3 separate regions of the Homo sapiens genome follow, and all the other regions are linked to region 1. Evidence: promoter capture Hi-C in human tissues and cell types (Jung and others, 2019). All regions are on one chromosome and are shown on one strand. The core of a region is centred on a gene start or on the middle of the fragment in contact, and the rest is flanking DNA. Distances in the headings are between cores, read along the strand shown.

What was found. The method cuts DNA at HindIII sites, captures the fragments that hold promoters and counts their contacts. A contact is called where the count stands out against the background at its distance.
Region 2: a contact is called between the fragment with the promoter of ENHO here and the fragment with the promoter of DCAF12 in region 1, in 1 of the 25 tissues and cell types used here (IMR-90 fibroblasts).
Region 3: a fragment that was not itself captured here is called in contact with the fragment with the promoter of DCAF12 in region 1 in 1 of the 25 tissues and cell types used here (dorsolateral prefrontal cortex).

What each region holds. Positions count from the first base shown.
Region 1 is chr9:34,125,298-34,128,003 of GRCh38, forward strand. It overlaps DCAF12 (DDB1 and CUL4 associated factor 12), which reads right to left and starts at 1,401. Exons shown (of 9, transcript NM_015397.4): 1 at 1,057-1,401. The coding sequence starts at 1,134. RefSeq lists an enhancer at 950-1,651 and a silencer at 1,086-1,135. The HindIII fragment of the contact is 26,684 bases long and covers 1-2,706 here.
Region 2 is chr9:34,521,630-34,524,335 of GRCh38, forward strand. It overlaps ENHO (energy homeostasis associated), which reads right to left and starts at 1,361. Exons shown (of 2, transcript NM_198573.3): 1 at 1,148-1,361; 2 at 1-227. The coding sequence starts at 66. RefSeq lists an enhancer at 105-657 and silencers at 1,287-1,396, 1,417-1,786. The HindIII fragment of the contact is 6,325 bases long and covers 1-2,706 here.
Region 3 is chr9:34,464,540-34,467,245 of GRCh38, forward strand. The region is part of intron 1 of DNAI1 (dynein axonemal intermediate chain 1); the gene reads left to right. Among named protein-coding and RNA genes, the nearest start is that of DNAI1, 7.1 kb to the left of the region's middle. The HindIII fragment of the contact is 7,861 bases long and covers 1-2,706 here.

The DNA.
Region 1 (2,706 bases), core at 151-2,650:
ATCAGGGCTTTGGCTACTCTTCTTCAGAACAGATCCTACTGTATTACAGAAATCACCAACTCATAACTCATACTGCAGAATTTACAAACAACACAAATACAAACACAAGAGAACAAGAATCTCAATCCAGAAAGTCGTTTAACTCTTCCAACATTAAAAAGATGTTGCTCACAGTCAAACTTACCAATGTGAATTACAAGGGCTGAAAGTCAAGGGAATGAATGCAGAATAGAACAGACTAAAAGGTTTACTAGACATTTTAGGAGTGAAAGATTGAAGGAAATGAGAGGTAGAGTGATTCCCATACCGACATGGGCTGCATCTCTACCCAGCCCCCTTCTCCCTCTCAGTCTGTACTCCCACTGGAGCACGGAAGATACAGTCCAAGGAGCCAGACCTGGCTCCCAGGTCTTCCAGGGATGCATCATCAATGACCGTTCCTCTGTCATCATGCCCGCGCTCCAGGCAGTTGCAGAATTCGAAAAATCAACCGCCAACGGGGTAGTAGGCCCCCGGGAAATCAGAGGCCATATCTATGTCCAAGAAGGCCTTCCCCTCCAAAGGGGGCGGCATAGAGATGATACCTGGGAACTGTTGTTTCTTTTGGGGTCCAAACGCCGAAAGGCCCAGCTCAGGGTTGGGTATACATATAGGGAGACTACTTCCTTCTTCCAGGAGGGACGCAATCATCCCAGCTTCCTAGGGCCCATGGAAGGTAGAGTTCACTCTACCAGAGTTTGTTTCCGATTCCCTTAACTTCGGTTTCCCCTTCCTCCAAAGCCAAGATTCTGGTTTCTTTTCAAGCCCTATCCACGAATGCAGGCCTCCCGCGGATTATGTCCCATTCCTGAGTTCCCCTTTGGCTCCTCACCGCCCTGGCCTATCTGCCCTCCAGTTAACGAGGGTCCAGTCCTGACCCTATAGGCCCTGAACCCATTCCTGTTTTGCCTCTGACTGCAGACCCTGGACCCCGATTCCCGTCGCAGGATCTGCGGACCCTAAGCCCATCTTGGTTCCTCAGCCTCACCACCCAGGTGCCGGCCTCTCAACCCTCACCTGCGGGCCCTGAGCGTCGCTCCCAGCTCCCGGCGAGGCGGGCGCTTTCCGCTTCCTGCTAACTACTTTCCGGGCCATAGTGGGCAGCGCCGCCGCGGCCCCGCAGCCACATGGGGCGGGGGAAGCGAAGGATAGCAGGACGGCGGGTCATATACTGGGCCCCGGGGCCGCGCACCTTAGTGCGCCCGGCCCGGAAAATGGCCCGGACCCGGAGCGGCAGCAGAAAAAAGATAGGCGGAAAGAAAGGAAAGAGAGAGGAAGGACTTGAGCCGGGAAAGGGAAGGGGAAGCGAGAATGAGCGGCTTTCCGACGGCAGAGCCTGCAAGGACGGCGAGCGGCTAGAACCAAAACACCCCCTCCCCCTTGCTCGCGCGCCGTCACCCTTGCGCAGCCGCACTTCGGATAGCGTCGCCACGGAAACACCGCCGGAACGAGATGGGCGGGATCTAGGGGTTGGAAGATAGTTCTCTGGTGTTTCCCGGCCGCCGCCAGGCCATTTTCAACGGTTGTTTGGCTACTGCTGGATGGAAGTGGACGAGCTGGGGCCAAGGGAATCTGGCTTCTGGCCGCCGACCTCCGACCCCAGCCCGCCTATCCGCAGGCACCCGGAAGTGAGGACCACCAGTGCTGCTGGGGGAAGGAATCCTCCCTAGTGCAGGCCTTAACCCGGTTACCTCCCATCTGGCACCAAACGTTTCCCTGAATCTGTCACAAACCGTGCCCTGGCTCCAAGGGCTGGACAGGGGGGTGGGGGGGTGGGGGGCAGGAACCGCTCCCACCCTCGAGGTGAAGTCCAGTCAGGAAGTCAGGGCAGTGTGGCCAGACTTTCCCACCACTGAGAACCTGCCCAGCACAACCAACCCAGGCCGCCCTACGAGTCTCTGGCTACCCTCTTCCCACCGCTGGGTAGCCCTGAGGCTCCATTCTCCGCTCTGTCTCCTCCTGATCCTTTCTCCTGTCCGAAATGCTTCAGCCCCTCAGTCAGTTTCAGCTCCTCAGTCACCTTCCCCTTACGGTGCAACTTCACCATTCCCTTTAGATTTCCATGACCTGCCATCTAAACCACATGGTCTTTTGTGCTTTATGAAGTAGTCATCACGCTGTAAACTTATCTGTAGCTGCCTGCCTCACTCTTGGATTCAGGTTGCGTCTCCATTAGGGCAGGTCGGGAATTCTGAACTACAGGAAAGAGAGTGGTCATTTTTGGCTTGCCAGTCCAGTTAGAGCTGGCATTGGCCTCCAAACAAGGGGGCTTCATCAGGATCACCCTTGCCAACATTTTTGGAAGATCCTGAAGGAATATGACTGCCAGCCTTCGCTTTCCTCAAGCAAACAAACCCTCTGAGGAAGCAGGATGCTCTTGCTTGGGGCTGATTGGCCTCAGGCTGTGGTGCCCAGTTACCTGCTGGTCACTTCAGGCTTCAGGCCTCAGGCCTCATACCTCCAAGGAGCTCTGTTGGACCATCTCAAGTTCTGTCAACAAGGAGATTTGGATTTGTTTTCCAAGCCGAATCAAAGACCAGATTGAAGCAGGGTCTCCTGCCATCCCAAGTCGGCACTACCACTAACCCCTAATGTCTTGCGAAAGGCAGCTCCATCTTATTTGGTCAGGCCTGTCCCTTTAGAGATATGCACATAGTGAGTGGGTCA
Region 2 (2,706 bases), core at 111-2,610, 400 kb after region 1:
CAAGAAGCCCACGAGACCGTTGCAGACGATGGCGATGAGGGCCCCCTGGGAGATGGCTGCCCCCATGACAGGCAGCACCCTCAGACCAGCACAGACAGTGGAGCTGCCTCAATGGTGAGGCCCATGCCGAGGCAGGACTCTGGTATGGCCGGCCTTCAGAGGAGGCTGTGCTGTCTGCACGCTCAGTGATTCCTGGGCAGTGGAGATGTCTACCTGCAGTCCTGAGCCTGTTGGGGGTATACAGTAAAGGAGAGGGTGGTGAGGAGGAAGGGTGGGGTGAGGCCTAGGAGGAGAGAGGTAGGGAAGAGAGCCTCCCTCCCACATTTCTGGCCTCCCTGGTGAAAGACCTTGGGTCCCAACAGGCTCGAATACCCCACAGAGCCATCACCCCCATCCACAGGCTTGGTTCTGGCCACCTGAATGAGTGTGTAGCCACCGTGGGGAAGCTGCAGTAGGCAGCCGTCATCTCATTCTCCTTAGACCTGGTGGGCATGCCCTGGTCCTGCCCACCAAGCTTGCAGCCCTCAAAAGCCCTCTGTTGGTGGGTGGGATCCAGGAAGCCCCCAGCCCAAAAGGATGGGGGTTGTAAGCAGCTCTGGTGTGGCCTGGGCGCCTCCTCTCTCCCAGGACTCCAGCCAGCCCGACCAGGAGACCTCCAGAGGCGCCAGCTTGCACAGAGGGAACTTTGTGGAGGCCCTGGCAGGCATGTGCAGGCTCTGTGCGTCCAGGGCTGTGTGCCTCTATGTGGGGCTGCCTCTCTGGGTCAGGTGTGTGTGTGTGTCTGGTGTCTCACTGTCCCTCCGTTGGATGTGTGCCTGTGCCTCTGCACACCCACCTCTGTGTGTGTGGCTGCCTCTCCGTGTGTCCCCATCTCTGAGTATGTCTCCTCTATGTCTCATTTCTCTACCAGTGTGTCTCTGTGTATCTCTGCATCAGTCTCTGTGTCTCTCTCTCTCTTCCAGGCTGTATCCCCCTCTGTTCCCATGGACGTGTCCCTATCCCCTTCTCCGTGGGGTCTTTTCGGTGGTTCCTGTGTCTCTGTCTTTGTGTTCGTCTCTCTCCGCGGCAGTGTGTCTCTGTCTCTTTATCTCCATCTTCGGGTCGCGTGTTCTTGGCCCCCGTGCCCGTGGCGGGAGGCCCTTCTTACCTGAGTTGAGCCTGGTGCGCGCCCGCGGGAGGGTCCGGGGCAGCGGGATGCTCGGCGCCGACTAAGGCTTGGGAGCCTGCGGGCGGGGGGCGGCGGGAGGTGGGAGACCAGCAGAGGCGACGTCCGCTCCCCCGGCCCTCCCCCTCGGCCGCGCAGCCTCCACCGGCCGCTCCCGCCGCGGCGCGACCGGGGCGGCCTCTGCCGCGGGCGGTCTGCGGTGAGCGGGCACCTCCTCCCCTTGGGGCCGCACCTCCTCCGCGGCCGCGGCGCTCGCTCGCTCGGCAGCGCTCGGGCGGCGGCGGCGGGAGCTGCGCGGTGTTCGGCTGGGCTCGGCTGCGTTCGGTTGGGCTCGGCTGGGCTCGGCTACGTTCGGCTGGGCTCGGCCGGGCTCGGCGGCCAGCAAAAACAGCGAAGAGCCTCGCCTCCTGGGAGGCCGGCGGCCTGCGGCCCGGGGGCGGAGCCATCCCAGCGCCGCTGCCGCCACTCAATTGGCTGGCCGAACCCCGGTTCCCGCACCATTGGTGGTGCGCTGAGGTGGGGACCAGCCCGCCTCTCGTGCCGGCGCGGGGCGGGAGGAGGGCCGAAGGAGTAGCTGGCCCTGGATCCTTCCCGGGAGAGGGGATGGGGTGGGGGCAAGGCCTAACCTCTGGTAGGGATTTCTTGCACCTTCTACACCTGGAAGGGTTGTACACCCCACATCCGAGAAAGGCCAAGGCCTCTGCATTTCCACATGTGAGGAAACCACCCCTCTGTATCTGGGAGAGGTCTCTTAAGTAAGTCATCCGGAGGAAGGCCCCGCGTCCCCACACCTGGCAGGAGACTGAATCTCCTCACCTAGGGAACCGCCTATAGTGCAGTCCCGCACTTCCCTCTGCCACCTGGGTGTGGACTCTGCATTCCCACTTTAGAGGGCCCCAGGTTCCCTGGCCCTAAGAGGTGTGAAAATCTCTGGCAACACAGGTTCTTTGGACACATTTACTGAGTTCCTACCCAGTGTTGGTCGCAGGCTTGCTGCCAGGCTGTTGGGGAGTCTGGGACAGAAATGGAGTGTCCTGAGCGATGGTTCTGCCCTGGCTGGAATAGGTGCAGGCGTGGTGGAAATCCTGCCTTGCCATCCTAAAAGCTCCCCTAAGAAGAAGATAGCTTGGACAGGAGCAGTGAGGTAGACCTTGTCCTCCCCGACCTTCACAGGCCAGTGATTGTCACCTATTCTGATCCGGCCGTCTTCTCATCCCGCTCTACATGCTCTCCTTGGAGGATCACATCCCTGAAGCTATATCATGAAGACTCCCAGTGCTCCCAAGTCTAGCCTTAACTTCTCTCTGGAATCCTAGACTCATATAACTAAGTGCCTACTGTAATCGGGGCAGTATTGATTCCTGGTTCACTTACTAACTTTGTGATCTTGAGCAAGTTACTAAATCTCTCTTAGCCTCAGCTTCCTCATCTGTAAAATGGTTGTAATGCTACCTCTCAGGGTTGTTATTCACTAATTTATAGCAGATCGATCACATCTCAGCAAATGCCAGCTGACACAACCCCCAGGACCATGTGACTAA
Region 3 (2,706 bases), core at 62-2,561, 340 kb after region 1:
GGAAGGTAGGGTAAGTTTCCTCTGTTATATAGTCTCATTGCTCTGTGTTCCTTTCTTCCATAGCATGCATCACGGTTTGTAATTATTCACTTATTTGTGTAATTATTTGATTATTGTATGTCTCCCCCATTAGACTGTGAGCTCCTTGGGAGCAGGGCCTGTGGATGTTTTTGCTTATATCTGTATTCTCAGCCCCTAAAACAGTGGCCATGATGACGTCAGAAGCTCTTGATGAATGTTGAATGAGTGATCAACTGTGGTTGGGGAAGTAGCACAGGGTTCTATGGAAGCATGTGGTAGGGGGTCTTCATTCTGATTCTGGGGGAATTAGGGAAGACTTCTGGGGGGACCACCAGTATTTAAGGTTTGGATAGAAGAAGAAGAGTCCAAAATGGAGAATAAGAAGGAGTAATCAGAGAAGTAAGAAGACAACAAGGAAAAATAATATCCCAGAAGCCAAAGGAAGAATGTGTTTCAGTGAAACTGTATGGTCAGCCAAGTTGCATGTTGCTAAGGTGTCAATGAAGATAAACACTAAGATATAACTATTAGATTTAATAACTTGGAAGTTATTGGGGACCTTGGAAAGGACAATTTCAGAGTGAAAAGCTAAACTGAATTGAGCTAAGAAGGCAGTAAGAACTATGTAGGCAAAGATTGTTTTTTTAAGATGACAGACTTGAATATATTAAATGCTGAGGGGAAGGATCCTGAACGGAGAGAGAAGTTGAAGATAAAGGAGAAAGATTAAATAATGACTAGAGCCAAGTCTCTGAGGAGATGATGTTGTGGACAGGAGGAGGCACACTTTGTAACAGGACAGGAGAAGGGATGGATGCAGTTGATGATAATTTTGAGGTTTAGCAGCAGAAAGCTGAGACAGTTTTTTCTTCTTTTCCCCTAGTTGTGTTAATGGAATTCCTTCTGGAAGTGATAACTAGAAAACAATTTTTGCCAATGGCAGTTCCATTTTGTTATGATTATAGTCATGCTATTTTCAGAGTTATGGTCTGAGGTTTGTCATGCACAATTATCAGATTACAAAACAGCTGTGAGCATTTGAGGCCAGAATTTGTTTTCCTCCCCTGTGTACTAGGGGGCCTAGCACATTGTTAGCACTCAGTACATGCCAGGTACTCAAATAATAATGGCAGAGGGCTCCTGTGCTCGTTGCTGGGCTTTGCAGCCTGCAAGTTGATGCTGAGGAGTAATGTTGACTCTCTGGCTCCAGCTGTGAGCAAGCCACATGAAATTGTTTTCTGCCAGTTAGGAATTTGTATCAAGTGTTCAATCTTTGCAGTCACTGAGCACTGACAGAGTTGTATGCAAGAAGCAAGCAAAGGACACAGCTGTTGTAACTTTAGTTTCACTGGTTTGAGTCTCACAACGCTTTGTCCTACTCATAGAGTCACTGGATTCTGGTTTGTATGGTGGATTTATGTCCTCCATTTATCTCACCTCCTAGATTGAGAACCCTGGGTGTGAGAACCAACTCAATCTTGGTTCCTCTTTAGCCGTCATCCGAGGACCTGGCACATAGTAGATGCTTAATAAATGCTGAATGAATGAATAATGACTGAATGAGTTAGTTGATGAGTGAATAAATGAGTGATGGGAAGGTATGTACTGCACTACTCTGAACACTAACTTTTCTTTCTTGGCCTGCAGAAGAAGCAATTCATGCCTCCTTTATCCTAGTTAAAGCAGCCTAATCCTATTAATTATGTAGGGACCCTACCCCTAATGTTAAGCTTATTTTTCTACTTTTATTCTTACATCACATCCATTTGCTCATTTACTTATTTTCTCAATGTGTCATGTATTCAGCCTCAAATCTTATTTGGGAACAAACTGGAGTGTATATGGACAAAATAATCTGCTGCTCCTTGGAGAGTCATCTGCTTCTGTGCCTCTGTGTCTTTGTTAATTATTTTGTTCCCTCTGCATGGAATGCCCAAGTCTTCTCTTCTCTTTCTGCCCTTTACAGACCTGGCAAACTCTAAGACACATTACTTTAGTTAAGCTCTTTAAGTTACAAAGAACAGAGGCTCACTCAAGTTACCTCAGATAAAAGAGGATGAGAGAAGGGAGAAGGTATATATGTGGGGAGTTACAGATGGTTATTATAAGTACATAGATAACCTAGAATTGAAATTGGAAAACAATTAATTCTGAAACAGGTATAGGGACCAACTACTTTCTCCACATCTCTCACAGCCTCTCTATTTCTCTTAACAACTATGTTTCATTCTTATTCTTATTTCCCAACTGGCCAGATTTCCATGGTCTCCGCTCCCTCATAATTTTAGTCTGTTTCCAGCTTATCATAACTGTTCTGACCTCTCTACCTCACAAACATTTCCATGAATATCTCCATCCAACTGCTGGTTCTCCCTGTAGTCCTAGTTCAAATTCTTAAGGAGGGAATCTGATTGACCCTAGCTCATCTGTTCATGCTAGGCAATGTCAGCAAGGGACAAGATCCTATGGCTCTTTAAGCAACCAAAGCTAGAAGGAGGTATTCTCTTTGCTCAGCTCCTCCAGTGGAAGATATAACTCGCTTTACTCTAAAGTAACTTCCATATTGTTTCTGGTAAATCTCTTTCTCATGAATTGTGCGGGAAGGGGCCTCAGGGGCCTCAGATTTCTTCTAGTCCAATGCTTTCATTCAGGGCTGATATTTACATTACAAAAGGTCCTGTCCTT